Linked DNA regions of Homo sapiens: region 2 is linked to region 1. The links are contacts of gene promoters, found by promoter capture Hi-C in blood cells and fetal thymus (Javierre and others, 2016). All regions are on one chromosome and are shown on one strand. The core of a region is centred on a gene start or on the middle of the fragment in contact, and the rest is flanking DNA. Distances in the headings are between cores, read along the strand shown. Region 1 holds the start of ZNF285 (zinc finger protein 285). Region 2 holds the start of ZNF229 (zinc finger protein 229).

The links. Contacts are between HindIII fragments. The CHiCAGO score rates a contact against its expected background, and 5 or more counts as called.
Region 2: the fragment with the promoter of ZNF229 here is called in contact with the fragment with the promoter of ZNF285 in region 1 in 2 of 17 cell types (neutrophils and erythroblasts); the score reaches 7.2 in neutrophils.

Annotation. Positions count from the first base shown.
Region 1 is chr19:44,398,842-44,404,717 of GRCh38, reverse strand. It overlaps ZNF285 (zinc finger protein 285), which reads left to right and starts at 3,110. Exons shown (of 4, transcript NM_152354.6): 1 at 3,110-3,150. RefSeq lists an enhancer at 2,957-3,713. The HindIII fragment of the contact is 3,728 bases long and covers 1-3,457 here.
Region 2 is chr19:44,446,946-44,452,404 of GRCh38, reverse strand. ZNF229 (zinc finger protein 229) reads left to right here and starts at 3,933. Exons shown (of 6, transcript NM_014518.4): 1 at 3,933-4,096; 2 at 4,805-4,892. The HindIII fragment of the contact is 11,359 bases long and covers 1-5,459 here.

The DNA of each region.
Region 1 (5,876 bases), core at 1,861-4,360:
CACTGGAGCAAGCAAAGATCACTCACACAATTCAAAAAAGTCTTAGGGAGGCTATTTCATTCCTGTTTGAGGGTCACTGTTCTATTTTTTCAGACATAAGATCTCATGCTGTCACCCAAGCTGGAGTACAGTAGCACCATCATAGCTCACTACACCCTGAACCTTCCAGGCTCAAGCCATCCTCCCACCTCAGCTGCTTGAGCAACTAGGATTACAGGCCAGATTCACTGTTCTACAGTTGGGAAGTATGAGCAGCTCCTAGATCAATTATACAAGAGCTTTCTCTTTTGTTCTTAACACACCCATTTAAGTGTGGATTTTCAGACTAAAGCCAAGCTCTTAGATTAGGTAAAAGTAACATTTAAAAATAACTATAATAATAAAGAGTATATAAATAATAAGGTAAAGAAATATACTAATTTTAAGACAAAATGAAAGAATAAATACTAGATGAAATCTAATGAAAAGAAAGCAGGTACAGTCTTCACTGAAAAGTAAACTCAAGGTGAAAATACAAAATACTTAAAATTGTTAACGAAATTTTTGGCCCATCAAGAAGATATGAACATTATGAAACTTACACAGGGTCAGCATCACTAAATTTTAAAATCCAAAATGTTTCACAATCTAAAACTTTTGGAATGTGAACATGACACCACAAGTGGAAAATTCCACACCTGAAGTATTTGCTTTCTTTCTGTTCTTTTCATTGATTTTTCTTTGGTCATCTGACGAAGGCAATCTTTGCTTCTGATGGTTCAATGCACACAAACATTGTATACAAACCTTGTGAACAAAATTATTCAAAATAATTCTATAAAATTAATTTCAGGCTACATGTATAAGGTTTATATGGAACACAAATGAATTTTGCATTTAGACTTGGGTCTCATCCTCAAGATATCTCATTACGTATATGCAAATATTGCAAAATCTGAAAAAAATAAAATATCTGAAACACTTCTGGTCCCAAGTATTTCAGATAAGGAATACAACACTTCCATACCTAACAACACAACTTTTAAAAAGTAAAGCCATTTGTATACCTAGTAACTTGACTTTTGAAAAATGAAGCAGGCTGGGCATGGTGGCTCACGCCTGTAATCCCAGCACTTTGGGAGGCCGAGGTGGGCAGATCACAAGGTCAGGAGATGGAGACCATCCTGGCTAACACGGTGAAACCCTGTCTCTACTAAAAATACAAAAAAATTAGCTGGGCCTGGTGGCGGGCACCTGTAGTCCCAGCTACTCGGGAGGCTGAAGCAGGAGAATGGTGTGAACCTGGGAGGCAGAGCTTGCAGTGAGTTGAGATGGCGCCACTGCACTCCAGCCTGGGCAACAGAGCGAGACTCAGTCTCAAAAAAAAAATAAAGGAAATAAATAAATAAATAAATAAATAAATAAATAAAGCAAATGCTATAGAGAGGAAAATGACAAATTTACCATTATAGGCTTTTTTTTCTTTCACTTTTTTCTTTTTTCTTTTTTTTTGGTGACAGAGTCTTGCTCTGTCGCCCAGGCTGGAGTGCAGTGGCATGATCTCGGCTCATTGCAACCTCCACCTCCTGGGTTCAAGTGATTCTCTTGCCTCAGCCTCCCAAGTAGCTGGGACTACACGTGCTTGCCACCATGCCTGGCTAAGTTTTGTATTTTTAGTAGCGATGGGGTTTCACCACCTTGGCCAGGCTGGTCTTGAACTCCTCACCGCGTGATCTGCCCACCTCGGCCTCCCAAAGTACTGAGATTACAGGCTTGAGCCACCACGCCCAGACTGGGAACCTTTTTGACATGCACTTTTCAATCGTTGACAGATGCATAATGAAAAAATCTAAGTAAGCACAAATAAGCATGTAGGAAATTTAAATAGCACAGTTAGCAAGTCTGGGGAAAATATAAATGTATGCATATCCATCTGATAGAGAAGACACATTGTTTTCCAACAGACACAGATGTCACAAAAATTAACCTTGTATTAGGTCAAAAATAAAAATGTTCCTGAACTCGTTTTTTAAAATTCAAGTATGTCAAATTAAATCAAGTAATCCTTCAACTTAGAGCAATATATAAGAACATCAAACATGTAAACATCAAAAGACAGAGATAAGCCAAAACAATTGCACTGTCCCTTTATGTGCCCTAAGCTGCGATGTCAAGCTATAGTTGGATATTATTCAACCATTTCCTGCCCATTGCGTAGAGGTGGGGGTCTTCACTTCTCTATCTAGTCTAGGACTGGAACCGCCTCACCACCCCTACAGCTTGAGGGTGCGTGGAAAAGGGAATGCCAGCCAGATATTCCAAACAGAGACTCTGCCAGCAGGACCAGGTGACCTTTCCTAGGAGACAGATTGTTCTCACACGTTATCAGGGCTTTCCTCCAGGCTAAAACTGTGGGCCTCTAATGGAATTCCTATTCAATTTTCTTACCCCATTTAGGGTACCCAAATTTTTCTTTAATAGAAATCTTAAATCTTAAATGCAATAACATGAAGTAAAATAAAGCCTAAGTCTCAACAAGGGCAAATTTTCAAAAAGAATCTGAAAACTTCCCGCGTTTTCTTGTTATGTTGTAATGTGTCTCTTTTAGGACACTCTCAGTACTCCTGCAATTCCCCTGTTAAGGATTCAGACAATAGTTGTTAATTCCTTCTGCTTCTTCTGAGACTAGGAAATAAATTACAGGGCTATGTTATATCGCAAGTGTAGATTATCCAGAGTTTTCATCAACAGAAATAAAACATGGTGGGGGGCGGGGAGGGAATTATTTAAGTGAGTGTTAATTGAAAAGTTTCGTGGTTTTAACGTTAAAAGACATGCCTATAAAATAAGAACTTATAAAAGTCTTCACTAAAACGGTAAAGTGCCCATTTCCAAGTAGTAAAATATTGAAACTTCTTTTCATCGTTGATAGTGATTTATTTAACATTTCATTATTTTATCGTTATTATGATTGTCGTTATTTTAGACGAATGCACGGAAGTCAAAGGACTTCCAAATGCACGGAAGTCAAAGGCCACCTTCACCAGGGTAGCCTTGCGAATGGCCACTGCTGCGCGCGGGGCTTTCTGGGGATTGTAGGCCATAGGCCTCCTTGCGCATGCGCCATGGTACTGGACGCACGCTGCGGGCGACATTGTTTGGGACGCTGGGGTGAGTCCCGTCTGTACCGCGCCCCTCTTGGAGGCGTAGCCAGGAGTAGGAGTGTAGGATGTGCAGCTGTGACCCGTCCCTGTGGACTGAAGTAGGAGGAGTGGAAGAGGGGACTGGTAACCAATGATAAGGCCTCGTAGGTGGGGTAGACTAGGGAAGTTCAGCGGCCCGACCTACCCGGGATAGGATGGGAAGAGCGTGGGCTCGAGCGTGGGCTCGGTTTGGGGAGCAGCCCTGGGTTTGACAAAACAGTGCATCTTCACGTTTCGTGACAGCGACTTGCGCTGTGCCTCCTCGGGTCGAAGCTTAGGGTCAGTCTTGGGATGTGCATCTCTGGATGAGGGCAGAGGGGCGCTGGCTCAGGGTTTTGGAGTAATGGCTGGACTGTGCGTCCCTGAATGGGATGAGGGATTTGCTTAAGCAGCTAGTCTCTGGATATAGAGGATGGCTTCGGCTGTTCTCGCTCAGTTTGGTGGGGGCGATTCTGGCTCAGCACCCCTAGGTTCTTGGATGGGGAGTTGTCTTGGGTCTGAACTCTGGATTTTGGCAGCTCTGACTCCATTGGGGCATTTATGACTTCAAGGCAGAGGTTCTGGCTTTTGGCAATAAAGAAACAACTCAGACTGTAATACTGTAATAACTCCAGAGTTTAATGTCACCGAATACATTTTGAAAAGAACTGTCCCAGGCCTGGCGCGGTGCCTCACGCCTGTAATCCCAGCACTTTGGGAGGCCAAAGTGGGCGGATCACGAGGTCAGGAGATCGAGACCATCCTGGCTAACACGGTGAAACCCCGTCTCTACTACAAAAAACAATTACAAAAAATTAGCCGGGCACGGTGGCAGGCGCCTGTAGTCCCAGCTACTCGGGAGGCTGAGGCAGGAGAATGGCGTGAACCCGGGAGGCGGAGCTTGCAGTGAGCTGAGATCACGCCACTGCACTCCAGCCTGGGCGACAGAGCCAGACTCTGTCTCAAAGAAAAAAGAAAAGAAAAGAACTGCCCCAAATTATTAACTCCATTCTCACCTCACATGCTGTGAGCCAGGGAGTAGGGACTTTGAGTATTATAAAGCACATTAGCAAATATAAGTTGTTAAATTACACTCAACAAATTTGAAGTTTGAACACTCTCTGTATATTTGATAAAGTTAGAGATTTAGTGTTAATTATTTTAGGTGTAATAGCAGCATTTATTACATTTCTGATCGTGTTTCTGGGCAATTGCAGTTCCAGATTCAGCTGCACTTTTCCTCTAGGTCTTCATTCCCTGAAGAAGTTGATATGGGCATCTGGTCTCATTCCTGATGCATTCCTCAGATCAGAGTAGTTGTCAGGGTGAGGGATGAGAAAGGCATTTGTGTGCGAGAGCTGTGTGGACTTTGGCAGATAGGGAAAAAACAAGAGTCTTGAGGTGCCATGTGTCCCATGCCTTTGGCTCCCCACCTTTTCCACCCTGCTGTCTGCCCTGAAAGGCCGCCATTGCCTTCTGGCCTTGCTTGTCTTTGGCCAATGGGAAGTCTCAACAGGAAAGTTTGGAGAGAGGAAGAAGTGTGAGTTGGAGTATCTTGTCCCCCAGTTCTCTCTCTGCAGGATTGTCACAGATTAGCTGCCCTTCTAAACAACAGGTCATAGTTTGGGTGGCCCTGGCCACACAGTCCTCTTAGTTCCAGGCTCCAGGGACTGCTCCCTCCCCTTACCTCTTAAGGCCCAGGTATTATAATGGCACCTCCCTGTCACTCCCCAGGATAGAGCCTTATCCATTGTGATTTCCTTACCCCGAGCCAACACCATTGTAAGCCGTCTGTTTATTAAACTCTCCTCAAATTTCAATGTGCCGTCTGGTTCGTGCCACGGCCCTGACTTGATACAGGCAGGTAGTGTCTGAAGCCAGAAATTCAGGAAACCAAACCCCCAACCATATATGTGTGAGTGCATGTGTGTGGATGTGTGCTTCAAAATAAACCTGTCCCATTATTGGCTCTTCAGTGAGAACAGGTACTGGAAGTAGAGGGTGAGTTTATGTCTTTGCACGTGCATCTAATGTATAATATCCAAGCCAATTCTATTTGTGCATTTGTTAATATTGAGAAACATTGATTGAGTGCTTGTTAAATGATAAGATCCTTACCAAGTACAGTGGATAAAAGACTACAGCTTGGTTATTTTTTTTTTTTTTTAGGATTTGTAGTTTTTTGACAGGGGAAAGGAGGAGTGTTTTCTTGGTAGGTTTTAACTATTGTAAAACGATGTAATTCATGCTGTACTAATGAGTTGAACCCTCCTTATTTTGGCCTTTGTTGGAGCCCAAAATAAGAAGTGATTAATGATGTCTCTTAAAGGTAGGAAAGGAGAGAAAAAGAGTCCAAGGATTTACCAAAAAGACATTTCACATTCTATTAACCTGATTCTATAACCCTGTGAGCTGCAATTCAAAGGGTAGCCCACAGACCAGTGCCAATAAATGATATTGGTCTGTGACCAGATAATTTGAGAACTTGAGTGTAGATGTTGAAAATTTTGTCTTATTGATTAACATAATAATAACAATTGGGCTTTAATTTGCATACCTTCTAAATTTCCTTTTTCTGGTAATTTCTTGTTACTGTATCTTACCAGAATATCAGTCTGTGACAGACTGAAAGTAACAGTAATAATAATTTAAAAACTAGTCCTTTATCACAGATAGTGTGAGAAGCACTATCTGAGAAGGCAGAAACATGGCTTT
Region 2 (5,459 bases), core at 2,684-5,183, 47 kb before region 1:
TCTGACCTTTGTACCGCCATTCCTTAGGGTCTCTTTCCTGTCTCCCAGCTACTCTCCAACCATCCCCAGTTTTCTGCAAGAGTCAGCCCCCAGCACACAGGAGACCCCTGGAAATTCACAGAGCTCACCAGATTCTTCCCCAACGACCTCCATCTACACAGCAGTGGCTCCCACATACTCCCCTGGGGCCCCGCACCCATCTTCTTTTACACTCAGAGCCTCGCAGGGTCTCACAGTCACTCCCCGTTATCATCATTCAGCTCGAAGTCCTTGCCATCCTCCTAGCCAACGTGATGCAGTTACCTGGCCATTTATCCACATTCCTGCTGAGGACTCCACACTCAGCCACAGAAGAGCCCTTCCCGCATTCCGGCCTCACACAAAGACCTGTCCTTTTACTTGCTACTGTCACACATTTGCTGGCAGGAGAGGCCCCTCTGATGGCCGACATCACCACCTGGGCTATCATCACCCCTCAGCTGTGCAGTGGGACCCTCCTGCCTGCTGACGTGGCTGCTGGCGCCCGTGCCAGCGTGAACCCCAAACCTGTCCGTGTTTCTGCGGGCGACGCCACCGGGGACATCCCTAGCTTGACCCCCTTTCCTGGCAGTGACACTGTCGGTATGATCCCGCGTTCTCAGATCTCTGATGTATACGTATGACTGTTTTCCCTGCGCTCGGTTTCTTCCATTCACAGGCCTTCTCATTGTCTCTCTTTCGGCCTCCATTTCAGACATTTCCTCATTCTCTTTCCCTGTGTCTGCCCCTGTCTCCACGTGGATGCCCTGGATAAGATTCACCCGTTTAAGGTGATGGATTTCTACTTCTTTGAATAATGCTGCTATGAACACTCCTGTACAATATTTAGTTTGGACAAATGTTTTCTCTTGGTTCATACCTAGGTGTGGAATTGCTGCATCATTTGGAGACTTCTATGATGTTTAACATGTTGAGGATCTTCCAGATTATTTTCCAATATGGCTGTAGATTTTGAAATTCCTACCAGCAGTGCCGGAATGTTACAGCTTCTTTACATGATCGTCAGCATTTTTTATTTTCTGTTTTTTTTTTGTGTGTGTGTGTGATTTAGTTTCACTCTTGTTGCCCAAGCTGGAGTGCGGTGGTGCGATCTCGGCTCACTGCAACCTCTGCCTCCCGAATAGCTGGGATTACGGATGCATGCTACCACACCCAGCTAATTTTTTGTATTTTTAGTAGAAAAGGGGCTTTACCATGTTAGCTAGACTGGTCTCGAACTCCAGACCTCAGGTGATCCGCCCACCTCAGCCTCCCAAAGTTCTGGGATGCAGGCGTGAGCCACTGTGCCCAGCCTATTTTCTGCTTTTCAATCCTGACCATTCTAGTGAGTGTGAAGTAGCACCATTGTTTTGACTTCCATTTCCCTAATGACTGAGGATGTGGAGAGTCATTTCATGTGTCTCTTGCCTATTTGTTTATTTTCGTTTAAGATATGTCTACGGAAATACCTTGCCTACTTAAAATTGGGTTATTTTTTCTTAACAATAACAAAACTGTTAGGGAGTCGGAAATTACAGCAGTTTCAAATTCAGTTGACACACGGTTTCTACAGTGTTTTGCAGTTTGTATGAGGTAGGATGAAGGCTGAATATTTACCTTGGGCCTTGGAATGGATTCATCTACCCACACTTTGTGCAGGTTGGCTCTTAGCTTCCAGGTCAAGACACCTTTTTAAAATAATTATTTTTATGTTTATTTTATTATTATTATTTTTTGAGATGGAGTCTTGCGCTGTCGCCCAGGCTAGAGTGCAGTGGTTTGATCTCGGCTCACTGCAAGCTCCTTCTCCCGGGTTCATACTATTCTCCTGCCTCAGCCTCCTGACTAGCTGTGACTACAGGCACCCCCCACCATGCCCGGCTAATTTTTTTTGTTTTCTTTTTTGTATTTTTAGTAGAGATGGGGTTTCACCGTGTTAGCCAGGATGGTCTCGATCTCCTGACCTCGTGATCTGCCTGCCTCGGCCTCCCAAAGTGCTCTGATTACAGGCATGAGCCACCGTGCCCGGCCAAGACACTTGATTGAATTGCTTAAGTGCTTCCCATGTGCCAGAGCCATGAAAGGTAAATAAAGAAAATAAAGAAAAAGAAGAGTCAATTATTTTGATGACTTAGAGATCTGACCATGGAGGCCATGTGAAAGGTGGTAACCAGCAATTTAAACCATGTGTTGCTGGATCCCAGAGTAATATAATTTATTGATTTCTCGGGGAAATGAGAATGTTCTGAGAGTGGTATTTAACATCCACTACACTCGCATGAAATTCTCCCAATCACAGACTGATCTGTTCATTGAATTATGATATAGAGTTCAAAAACACTCGATAGAGGAAATTATATTCAAGTTGTGTCTTAAATATGGAGTAAGATTTTAATAGTACAGGAAAGGATGGACTTACAGAGGGAAGAACAATAGCAGCAAATTCAGACATTTGTAAAACTGGAGGACACAGGATGGGAAGTAGGACTGTGTCTACCCAAGCAAAGAGGGGTGGGTTTGGAACCAAATATCTGAAGGGCTTGGATGCTTTGGAGTCAATTGGCAATTTTTTAGAATTTATCAAAACAATTCGATAATCTGTTTATAAGAGAGAGTTCTAGAACTTCTAGGATGAAATTTTTGAAACACAACAAGGAGGGAGAGATAAGGAAATGAGTTATCACTGTAACTGAAACCTTTCATCATGGCACAGAAAAAGCAATCTCTATCTTCAGAACACACTTGTATCCCAGAAAATATTTCATTATATATATAGTAATGTAGTAAGTGATTAGGATGCCGTTTAAATCAGAAAGGAAAGAATTAATATTTATGTAAATTTTGTTAAGAAAAGTAGACAATCCTTTGGTGAAACAGGAAACTCCATCTTCCTTTCATATCATACACTTAAATGAATCACGCGGTGATTCAAAAGAAAAATGAAAGAGCCTGAAATGAATATAGATATGCACTTATTGGGAATCAGGCTAAGGAATGTCTTTTTGGTCATACTGGAGAAAAAAAAGAAGCCACAAATGAAAAGACTGATATACCTTGTCAGATGAAGTTTTTTGTTTTTTTTTTTTTCTAAACTACTTTATAAATGTTGAAACTGGGGGAGCAATTCATCACTTAGAAGCGATATCATTCATACACAGAGAGTGTATGACAATAAAAGATGACAATGAAATGCAATCGGTAATAAGCATATTTACTCTGTCAAATTGGGAAAATAAGACAGGATATTTAGTCCATCAAATTGGGAAAATATTAAAGAAAGTGATTGTGTGTAGTTTTGATATCATAAAATTAGAAGTGTAAGTTCAATGCAGGACAAAGGGGTAACTTCCCTAAAAACTAAAGAATGCTAGGCAAGTATTGCAAATAATTTGTGTTTTTTTATTATCTCTATGTATCTCTACGTCTTTTGTGACATACAGAACTATCCACGATATATGACCTGTGGCAAGAAATGATTACAAAATATTATGATGCCATTTGGGAAATGGGATTCTTAAGAATTCATATTTACTCACATAAACCAGGGATTAAGTAAGAATTTTTTTTAAACCATTCTTTACATGTAATATGAACTACTTTTGAAATAAATATTTAGTTGGCTTTTACACCAGAAAATCAATAATGCTTTATATCCCTGGTGATGGGATGATGGGCTTGTTTGAGAATATAGTCAGGTTTGCTACAACGCGAATATGTTAGTACTGAGTAAAGACATTCTTTTCAACTCAGAAACACCTTGCATGCCGCCTCCCGCCGCCTCGCAGTGGGCGTGACTCGAGGTGGACGCGCATTTACGACACCATCGCCCCTAGGATCGGACTGCGCTGCGGAGGGTTCTGGGAAAGGTAGTCCCACACCTCGAGTCGACTACTTCCGTTTCCGGTGGGCGCGTCACCTTGATTGCTTCTTAGGCAGTGGTGAGGCGTCTTAGAGACGTGCATCTCCATGCGGTTGTACTGTCAGGCCATGGGAATTAGGATCGGCTCTATAGGACCAGTGTGAAGGGACAACGTGCGGCGGAGGGTCGAAGCCCACGGATTTCCATGAGCTCGGCCTGGTGAGGCAGGGGTGTAAGGAGGCGCACGTATCGAACATTCTGAGCGCCTGTGCGGGGTGGGCCCGGGTCGGCAGCCCTCGCAGTCCAGGCTTGGAAAAGCAGTTTGAGGCCAGCTCTGGCTTTGAGATGAGATCTGCAGTGCGGGAGACTCCACTGTGTCAGTTGCGGATCGATGACATGAATTTTCTCAGGGTAGCCGCCCACCCACTTGTGGAGTAATTTCAGAGTTTTCTGCGAAGTCATTTCTGTAAACAGGAAGTTGATTCCCTGTGTTCTAATTTTATCCTTTGAAATGTATTAAGCGCTGTGCAAGTCCTAGGAGTTGGTTTGCTGTATCGTTGCTGGCTCTGCTTTTTGTAGCCGCCTAAGCACACACAGGCAGAATTTCACTTGTAAGTGTCCCACAGCATGTGACAGTCAGCTCTGGATTAAAATCTTGAGATTTTGTCTTGATTCTCCTTGTCTCCTGAAAGGGGCAGTGAAAGTAGGCTTGTAGACGGTTTCTTTGGGCATCAGGAATGGCGTGTCCCTTGTACTCTGAGTCCTGTAGGAAGAGAGGTTCTTTTCCTCGGCTCCTGAAGCAAGTAGCGAGGGTAGATTACAGGAAGGGGTAGATTACATCCAGCTGGCACTGAGAGATTTCCCCCTGTGGCGTGGTGGGAATTGGGATTAAATCATGTTATCCTGCTGTTCATTTTTCTTTCACAGGCTTCCTTCTTGGAATTGTTCGTTTCTCGGAGATAATTGTATAAAAGAAGGAGAAATAACCCCACATCTCTTGACACTAGAGCTCCAGGTGAGTGAACTTTGGTTCTCTTTTGTGGCAATGCCAGGTCTCTTGGTGACCTCATTCTTCATCCCATTGATATCACAAATGTTCATTCAGACCCCTTAGCCACACCTGCCTTCCCCTAGAAATGGGGGAGGTTTGAGGAATTTCCCAGTGTCTTTATTTAGTGTATTCTCTTCTTGGCTCCTAGTAGTGTGTCACTGGGTCAGTAAAGGCTTACACTGTTTCAGCGCCATGCTGAAGAAACGCAGGGTAGAAATAATTAGAGTAACTGTGATGGTGTATATTAACTGAGTGCTTACTATATGCCAGGTATTATTTATCCATGGTGTCTAGGACAGTGCCAGGCTTGCCAATAAATATTTGAATAAATGAATGTATTTCTATTGAATTTTCTGAGCAAGTTTGTATGTTAGCTATTATCCCCATGTCACAGATGAGTTGCTAAGGTTTAAAAAGTTAAAAAAACTTAACAGGTAAGACCTGGCCAGGAGACCTTCTAAACAGAAACCAGGTCTTTGCGCTTATGCTTCCTTCTGGACTTGTCTCATCCCAGCTTTTTTCACAGCTGAT